3 separate regions of the Homo sapiens genome follow, and all the other regions are linked to region 3. Evidence: promoter capture Hi-C in 16 types of primary human blood cells and fetal thymus (Javierre and others, 2016). All regions are on one chromosome and are shown on one strand. Each heading gives the region's core, a stretch centred on a gene start or on the middle of the fragment in contact. The rest is flanking DNA. Distances are from core to core; before and after follow the strand shown.

Region 1 (2,700 bases), core at 62-2,561, 6.0 Mb before region 3:
TTTGCACCTGCACGGGACGATTAGCTCCTTGGAGTCACACCCATCCAGGCCCTCTGAAGACTTGGCGTGCGTGCAAAAGATAAAGCGTCTTACTTCCTCTAGGGTTCTTGGCAGCACCTATCTCCGGGAGAAGTTTCCACCTTGGTTAATGTAAATAACCAGTCCCAGGAGGGCTCTGTGCCGTCTGGCCTGCTGCTCAGCTCCTGCTGTGGGCGTGCTTGAGGGTGTAGAGAAACAAGCTTCCCCCAACTGTTCACATCAAAACTATGCCTTCTGCCAGGTGTAAATCGGTGCTGTATTACTTGGGAAATAGTTTCATGCAGGAACTACTTACATGAAGTTTGTATAGACTAAAGTATTTCTGTTTAGTGCCGAAATTATGTCTGGATTGTGGAGGCAGATTGGCCACCACCGTTCAAAAACAACAACAACAAACAACAGGCAACATTTTAAAGCAGGGTAGAAAGTCAGTTGTTCAGTGGTTACAACACAGACTCCTCTATGGTTCCAGTCCTGGCTCTGACATTCACTATCCATGAGATCTTGGTCTCTGGGGATAACAATGATAGCTATTTCCTTGGGTTATTTTGAGGATAAAGTGAAATAAAGCATGTGAAGTGCTTAGCAGGGTGCACAGTAAGCACTCTAAGTATTAGTTATTGAAATTCTTTGGCAAACCACTGTGGCCAAACTTAGCTGGTGATCTGTATAAATTTGTATCTGTGCCTCCTTTTGCCACTTTCCTCTCTTCTCCTAAAATATACAACCTAATAATACAGGTTAAGAGATTAAATAGAAGGTGCTGTCCCCACCTGAGTTCTTCCCTACAAACATGCTCTTATTTGTGTCATTCGTTGGATAAGTAATCAGAATGACAGAAGCCTCCAATTTCAATTCCTGCCAAATGACAACCACCACACAACTGCCATCACCACCCTAAAAACTCCACAATAGAAAGATGAACACCCAAATCCCCCAAACTTCTGGTAATTCTGTGACAATGACACATGGCAACATTACTTCCTTTGTTAGCTTTGTAAGGATTTAAGTATTGTTTTGAGCTATGACATAAGTTGGAGCAGGTGACCATGAGTCAGGGTAGTTGTCCTTTATACTGGAGTGACCAGCTGCCTGATCCTAGGCATGACACTTCTTTTAAAGTTCAGATATGTAGCTCTCAAAGCCACCAGGAAAGCAGCTTTTGTCAAAGCAAGTTCAACTGTAACATCAGAGAACCAAGCTGAGATAAGAAAAGATGCTGGAAATACTATCTTCTGTTACTTTAATGTTAAATAACTTGCTATCTGAAAACCCTTCTGTGAATTACCTGACCAACTGCCCTTGGCCTGACTTGTGTATAAAAGCACTTTGGGCCAGGCACGGTGGCTCATGCCTGTAATCCAAGCACTTTGGGAGGCCGAGGCAGGTGGATCACAAGGTCAGGAGATCGAGACCATCCTGGCTAACACGGTGAAACCCCGTCTCTACTAAAAATACAAAAAAATTAGCTGGGCGTGGTGGCACGCACCTGTAATCCCAGCTACTCTGGAAGCTGAGGCAGGAGAATCGCTTGAACCTGGGAGGTGGAGGTTGCAGTGAGCCGAGATCACGCCACTTTACTCCGGCCTGGGCGACAGAGCGAGACTCCATCTCAAAACAAAACAAAACAAAAACAACACTTTGAAAAAATGGAGTGCTGTAAAATATAAGGCAGTTCCCTCAAAAATGAGCCTTGTATCACATTGTTGCTCAGAGGGCTCAGACAGTCATAACACAAAATCTTCCCTGCTCAGGTTATGTTTATGGCTTTCTGAGGAAAAAAAAAAAACAACAAAATCTGAAAAGGCAACCTCTTTAGAAGTAAAATAATTAGCATTTTATTTGAAGAAGACATATTATTACACCTAGTTTTTCTAACTTACCTTTTTGAACCACTTAGAGAACTCACAGTAATACAGTTTTTTTTTCTCCCTGTAAATTACACGGTAGACTAAATGTGGTCTATCACTCTTGGCAAAAGACTAAGGGCAGATCAAAATTTTTGTTCGATGAAGAAATAGAAATACTCATTTTCTTTTTACACATCTGAAATCTGAGTTTTAAATTATAATAAATCATTGACAAAAATCTAAAAATGTAATTACAGTTGGATTTGCAACCTCTCAGCCTTATAACTTTTCTAGTGGAGTTGCATATTGTACTGATTTAATGTAATGCAAATTTAGCTATACGGGACTCATCTAGGACAGAATATGAGGAACACAAGAGAATAATTTAAATACTTCCAGTGATCTTGTCCCCTATTTCTCTCTATGGGAGTTGTGAGGCTTCTCTTACTGTGTTTATCTGAGTTTCTGAGCTTCTCATTATGTTCCAAGCTTCTTTCCCACGGCTGGCTTCATGTTCGTGCAGTCTGGGCAGTTGCACAAGGCCCCACCCTTGGAAGAGCCCTGTGCTTGGTTTAATACATTGCTGCTGTTGTGTTGAGATTCTTAATACTGTGCTTTTTGAAAGGGGGCCTTGCATTTTCATTTTGCACTGGACCTGGCAAATTATGTAACTGGTCCTGATCTCCCCACACAGAATATGAGTCTAGTGGTTAAAGGTGCTTATCTTCCTGCCCCTAAGTGCCAATCAATTATTTCAACCAGTGCTCACTTGAAGAAACTTATGTCTGTTTCAATGCTGGAAGAAAAGAAA
Region 2 (2,700 bases), core at 177-2,676, 6.1 Mb before region 3:
GCACAATTACGGCTCACTGCAGCCTCGACCTTCCAGGCTCAAGTGATCCTTCCACCTCAGCCTCCTGAGTTGCTGGGACAAGTGCACGCCACCACACCCAGCTAATTTTTGTATTATTTGTAGAAACAGGGTTTTGCCATGTCGCCCAAGCTGTTCTCAAACTCTTGAGCCCAAGTGATCCGCCCGCCTTGGCCTCCCAAACTACTGGTATTACAGGCCACCACGCCTAGCCAAGGAGGTTCTTATAATCCGATAGACTTACTGATCATGTCACTTTCCTGCTTAAACCCTTCAAAAGCTCTGCTCCAAGACAAAGTCCAAGCTCTGTCAGATGTTTATTGAAACTTTTCATAATCAAGACCCTTACTTAACCCTGTCTTTTATCTCTTCTCCTCTATTTTTCTTCACTCTAATACTACTGGATTTACTTTCCTTCCTCAAAAACATCCAATGGTCTTGCCGAGGAGGTTTCAAGTATCCTGTTCTCTTTCCCTGAAATCTCTCCTTTGCTATCTTCTCCGGCCACGTCTCCACTTCCCTATTCCACGTCAGTGTAGATTTTGAGGCTCAGAGAGATTACAAAATGTGCCTTATCAGATAACAAAATATGTCGACAGCCGCACTTCACTGGGCAGCTCGCTGTGGGGCAGCTGTCCTTAACTTCCGAGAAGCTGATGAAAGCTGTGGAGTCTCTCCCCCAGAAAACACACAGGCAAATTCTTTAGTAAATATTGAGGGCGTTTAAAATTCCCCTGCAACCCAAACTGGAACTTCAAGTTAAAAGGAAAGATGACTAGCTTGGAATTCAGACGATCTGGTTTTACCCCCACAGCCGGCTGTGGTGCCTCATGCAAATGGCCTGAGCTCCCTGGCCCCGTGTCCTCTGTAAGACTGCAAACATGCAATACGTCCCCCACAGTAAGTGCGAGGGTCAGTCCTCCCCACGCACACCTATGCTGGAAGAGCTCCAACCCTAGAGCCAGCAGCGGGGCTTCTCGGCCCCCGCAGCGGCTGACAGCTCCTCTGGGATCAGCCTTCACTCGCGCACGCGGAGGCCGGCTCTGGAAAAAAGACTCGCAAGCGCGACGCTCTGGGCATGCGCAGAAGCCCGGCGCATGCGCACAAACCGCCAGCCCGCCCCCTTGGCGGCCCGAGCACTCCGGGCAACGCCCCCTCAGGGCGCATCCTTGTCCCTGACGCTCCCTGCGTGCCTGGCACTGACCTCTACAGTCGGGATCGGCGCCGCCAGCTGCTCCGGAGTCAGGTTCCCAAACTCCTCCGCTAGCACGTCCATGCTGCTCACGAAGGAGGAAGAAACAGATAGAACCTCCGCGCCCGCCTTCCCTGCACCAAGCAAACTGCAAGACTCCCGGCGAACGGTGCGCGGAGGCCTAAACTGTCCCCGCCGTGCGTGTTAGCTAGAGACGCGGTAGAAAGGTTCCGCCCGCTCCCTGCCCGAATCTGCGGTGGAACCCGGATGTGGCCGAGGCCGAGTAAGGAAAGTACGCCCTCTGGTGTAGCTCGGAGGTCTGGCGCAGGGAATCCTAAGCCCCAGCTGTCAGGTTTCTTGCCAATTCTCTGGTAATTGAGACCAGCAAAACATAGTGGTTGTCATTTTAAAAGTAATCCGAAGAAAAGTGTAAACGCATAATTTACGCAACTTGAACCACTGAGGCAGAGAATTATTTAATGTAGTCCAAAATTCTATGCATTGTTTAGTATGGAAGAGCAGGAAACGTCCCAAATGCCTACCAATAGAAGATTGATTAAATAAATGATGGTACATGCGTGTAATGGAAGAGTGTTGAAAATTCTCAAAAGCACTAGATGGAAGATGTAGGAGTAAATACCCAGCGCATGGAGAAATTTAATATGAAAAGATGACATTTACGTTAGTAGGGGAAGGATGGCCTGTCCAGTAAATAATGTTTGAAGAGCTGATTACCCATTTGGGGAAAAAATACATGTAAGTGAATCTTTTGTGGATTAAATATTGAAATGTTAACAAAAACTTAGAAGAAAATGTAAGTGCAGATATTCATAACATTGAGATGTTGAAGACTTTCAAGACGGCAACAGTCAAATCATAAAGGATTTTATAATCTAAACACGATTTTATGATTCCACGGAAAATTTTTAATTTTCTGAACAGATTTTAAAAAATCACCAACAAATAGAATTAATAAAAAATAAATTGGCAGAAGACAAAGGGCTGGTCTCTCTAATTTAAAATGAGCTCATACAAATCAACAGAAAGAAAAATCCTATTAGAAAAAACAAGGCAAAATGCACCAATTAATTAATGGGTACGGAGTTTCGGTTTGGGAAGATGCAAAAGTTCTGTAAATGGAGAATGGTGATGGTTGCACAACAGTGTGAATGTATTTAATGCTGCTGACCTGTACATCATTTTAAAGGGTTAAAATGCTAAGTTTTATGTATATTTTACAACGATAAGAAAAGTTATGAAAATTTGTAAGTACATATATGCTTTCCAATTTCTCCCTCATAAAGGTAGAACCCTTGCACCAGGTTAATTATTCTTATTTACTAAAGAGCTACTTAAATTTCAGTACTTGTATTTTCTTTTTTTTTTTTTTTTTTTTTTTTTTTGAGACGGAGTCTCGCTCTGTCGCCCAGGTGGGACTGCGGACTGCAGTGGCGCAATCTCGGCTCACTGCAAGCTCCGCTTCCCGGGTT
Region 3 (2,700 bases), core at 1-2,500:
ACAGTGGCAGGCTGATTTGGAGCATTTTTGCTAAACTATTTATTTTTCAGAACGGAGATAGGCTACTTAGAAAACTCACTCATAGTATCCAATGTTTTTAGAAAGTGTCATCACAAATAATTCCTGAGTTTGACGTACTAAAAAATAGTTGACACCTTCCAATGAAGTCACTACAGGCATAGCGCTTTTAAGCAGCTTGTCTGGAGCCTCCTCGAGTGCCTTAGAGGGTGGATTTGATAATATGGCCTCCTTAATTACGGATCACAGGTATGTGCTCAAAGTCCAATAAGTTTTTGCAAGCTTTATCGGTCTAAACCCTCCTCCATCCGTATTCTCCCGTTTAGAAAAACAAGACTGCAGGAGTAACCGTGGGGTTTTTTCTCTTAACAAAACCCCTGCCCCACCCACCTCACACACAATAACCTTCCATTCCAGAACTAAAGCTACTGTCAGAGAAGGACGGCGGGCGGCAGGGCCCTGGCTGGTGACCCAGGCTACCGGATTCCGGACCTCAGAACTGAGGTGAACTCTCTCACCCGGTCCTAGAGTAGTGTCCAATGTCCCCGAAAGGTACTACGTTCTCCACCACCGAAACCCGAGCTCTCGAGCCGGCATGGGGGGCTCTCCCTCCGGCAGCTGACTTCGATCCCGGGTCTCCCGTCGCCTCAAGGCCTCTTTCGAGGACTCGGCCCTCTCGGATCCGCTCCCCGGAGCTCGCTGCTCGTCCAGCCCCGCTTTGCGCGGGCGCCGACCGCCGATCGCCCGGCCGGCCGCCGGCAGGCCCGTCACCAGGCAACACCCACCAGCCTGAGCGGCCCTGGGAGGCCTAACCCGGGCGCGAGTCCTCCATTCCCTCCTCGCCGGCTCCGGGAGCCCAGGCGAGAGAGCCGCCGGTGAGGGAGGTCGGTCGGTGCCGGCGGCCGGTCACTTACCTCTTCCTTCTTCCAGGAGGGGCGGTGCTGGGGCTCTTTCCCCCCGCCCCCCTAATAAACGCCTCCTGGCTGTTCCTGCTCTGCCTTCGTGCCTGGCCACTGACTCTGGCTTTACTCCATATCCTCCGCCGCCCCCGCGGCCGCAAACGTCGGAGCTAGAAGGAAAGGGGTGGGGAGGGGAGGGACCGGGGACGAAGAGTAAGGGAGGGGGAAAAAGACTAAAAGACCTGCCGGCCGGGGGCATGACGTCACTTCCTGCCGGTTCGGAAGAGGCGGAGCCAGTACTTCTCTCCGCCCCGGGTGTCAGGTGGGGCGGGGCTATGGTGCCAGGGGAGGAGCCAGCGCGCGAGCTTATGGCGGTTCTTTTGACTCCGAGGTTCCGTAGACTTGTCAGTCAGAACGAGCTTCCGGGCCCAGGGCTGAACGGGCCAAGTTCCAGGAACCGTAGAGATGGCTTCTGCCGGAAAAGGAGGACAGGTAGCCCTGTATATCCTAGCCAAATGTGCAGTGAAGGTGGAGGGGGCAGCTGAAGGGAGCAGGCGGCTGGGACTCTGCTCCTCATTGGTCCAGGGCCCCGCCCATTTCCTAGCCCCGCCCCCTTCCTGCCCTACCAGGCACTGGACTGGGGGACCCAGGACTGAGGCTTTTTAGGGGTTACTGTGGTGAAGTGCCCTTGGAGCGTGCAGGAAAGCGTTTTTTCTCAAACTTTAATATACATACGAATCCCTAGGATCTTGTGAAAGTGCAAATTCTGATTGAGGAGTAGGGTCTGATAATCTGCGTTTCTAATACATGTCCAGATGGCACCAATGCTGCTGGTCCCTAGGCTACACTTACAGCAACAAGGGGTTAATGTACTAGAGGGCAAATTCCTTGAGCTAGAGGAGTTATTTCTTTAATCTAGCCTACTTGTTTAATGAAGGTTAGAGAGGTAGACTGTCTATGGAAAACAGGCTGTACCGCTGTATTTTCCACCTACCCCGTCGAGTACCCTCCTGCCCACCTCCGCCCATCACTTTCTGGCCTCCCCTCCTCAGTCTCCGCTCTGCCCACAATGTCTGGGGATAAGATTTCTTGAGTGATTAGACGGGTAACTTCTGTTACAGAAGGAATTTGAGGGTGGTGGATTTTTATTTCTGTCATTTTATCGTAAACATATGTATAGTTGGGCATACTTTTGCGGTTATGCATAGTTGGAGAAGAGAGCTTAAGTTCTTGGATTCTACCCACTTCCCCCTGCAAATCTAGAAAAAACATTCTAGAAGTTCTAAGTTATTCCCTTATCATTCTTTAATTTTTTTAATTAATTTTAATTAAATTTAATTTTAATTAAAATTTTACTGGGGTACGGAAGAATGAAGAATGACTGCGAACTATAGGTTTCTTTGTGGAATGATGCAATGGTCTGAAATTAGATAATAGTGATGGCTGCACAACTTTGTGAATGTACTAGAAACACTGAATTGTACACTTTAAAAGGGTACATCCTCTTTCATCAGCCACCATTACAATCCTTCTTCCCCAAGGTTACTCGTTTGAAGTTTATTCTTCCAGATCTTTCTATTTATTTACATACATTTTTACATAGGTTGGGAATTCATTTTTACCTAAGTAGGATAATAATATACAAGTTGTTCTGCTCAGCTCATTTTTAAAAAATTTTTGTTTTGGGTTTTTCTTTTTCCCTACTTAATGAGATCCTTGCACACTATAAACATAGCTCTACTTCATTCTTTCTAATGGCTGGCTACTATTCTATAGTAAGGGT

Evidence for each region. The method cuts DNA at HindIII sites, captures the fragments that hold promoters and counts their contacts. A CHiCAGO score of 5 or more calls a contact.
Region 1: a contact is called between a fragment that was not itself captured here and the fragment with the promoter of DEPDC4 in region 3, in 1 of 17 cell types (fetal thymus). The highest score is 6.0, in fetal thymus.
Region 2: the fragment with the promoter of POLR3B here is called in contact with the fragment with the promoter of DEPDC4 in region 3 in 1 of 17 cell types (neutrophils); the score reaches 5.5 in neutrophils.

What each region holds. Positions count from the first base shown.
Region 1 is chr12:106,299,301-106,302,000 of GRCh38, reverse strand. It overlaps a transcript of TCP11L2 not described here. Among named protein-coding and RNA genes, the nearest start is that of TCP11L2, 2.1 kb to the left of the region's middle. The HindIII fragment of the contact is 2,139 bases long and covers 242-2,380 here.
Region 2 is chr12:106,356,474-106,359,173 of GRCh38, reverse strand. POLR3B (RNA polymerase III subunit B) reads right to left here and starts at 1,426. Exons shown (of 28, transcript NM_018082.6): 1 at 1,223-1,426. The coding sequence starts at 1,294. The HindIII fragment of the contact is 8,226 bases long and covers 1-2,700 here.
Region 3 is chr12:100,265,629-100,268,328 of GRCh38, reverse strand. DEPDC4 (DEP domain containing 4) reads left to right here and starts at 1,250. Exons shown (of 10, transcript NM_001364818.2): 1 at 1,250-1,409. The coding sequence starts at 1,253. It overlaps SCYL2 (SCY1 like pseudokinase 2), which reads right to left and starts at 1,152. Exons shown (of 18, transcript NM_017988.6): 1 at 537-1,152. RefSeq lists enhancers at 518-577, 588-657, 1,328-1,407 and silencers at 728-807, 908-957. The HindIII fragment of the contact is 4,398 bases long and covers 303-2,700 here.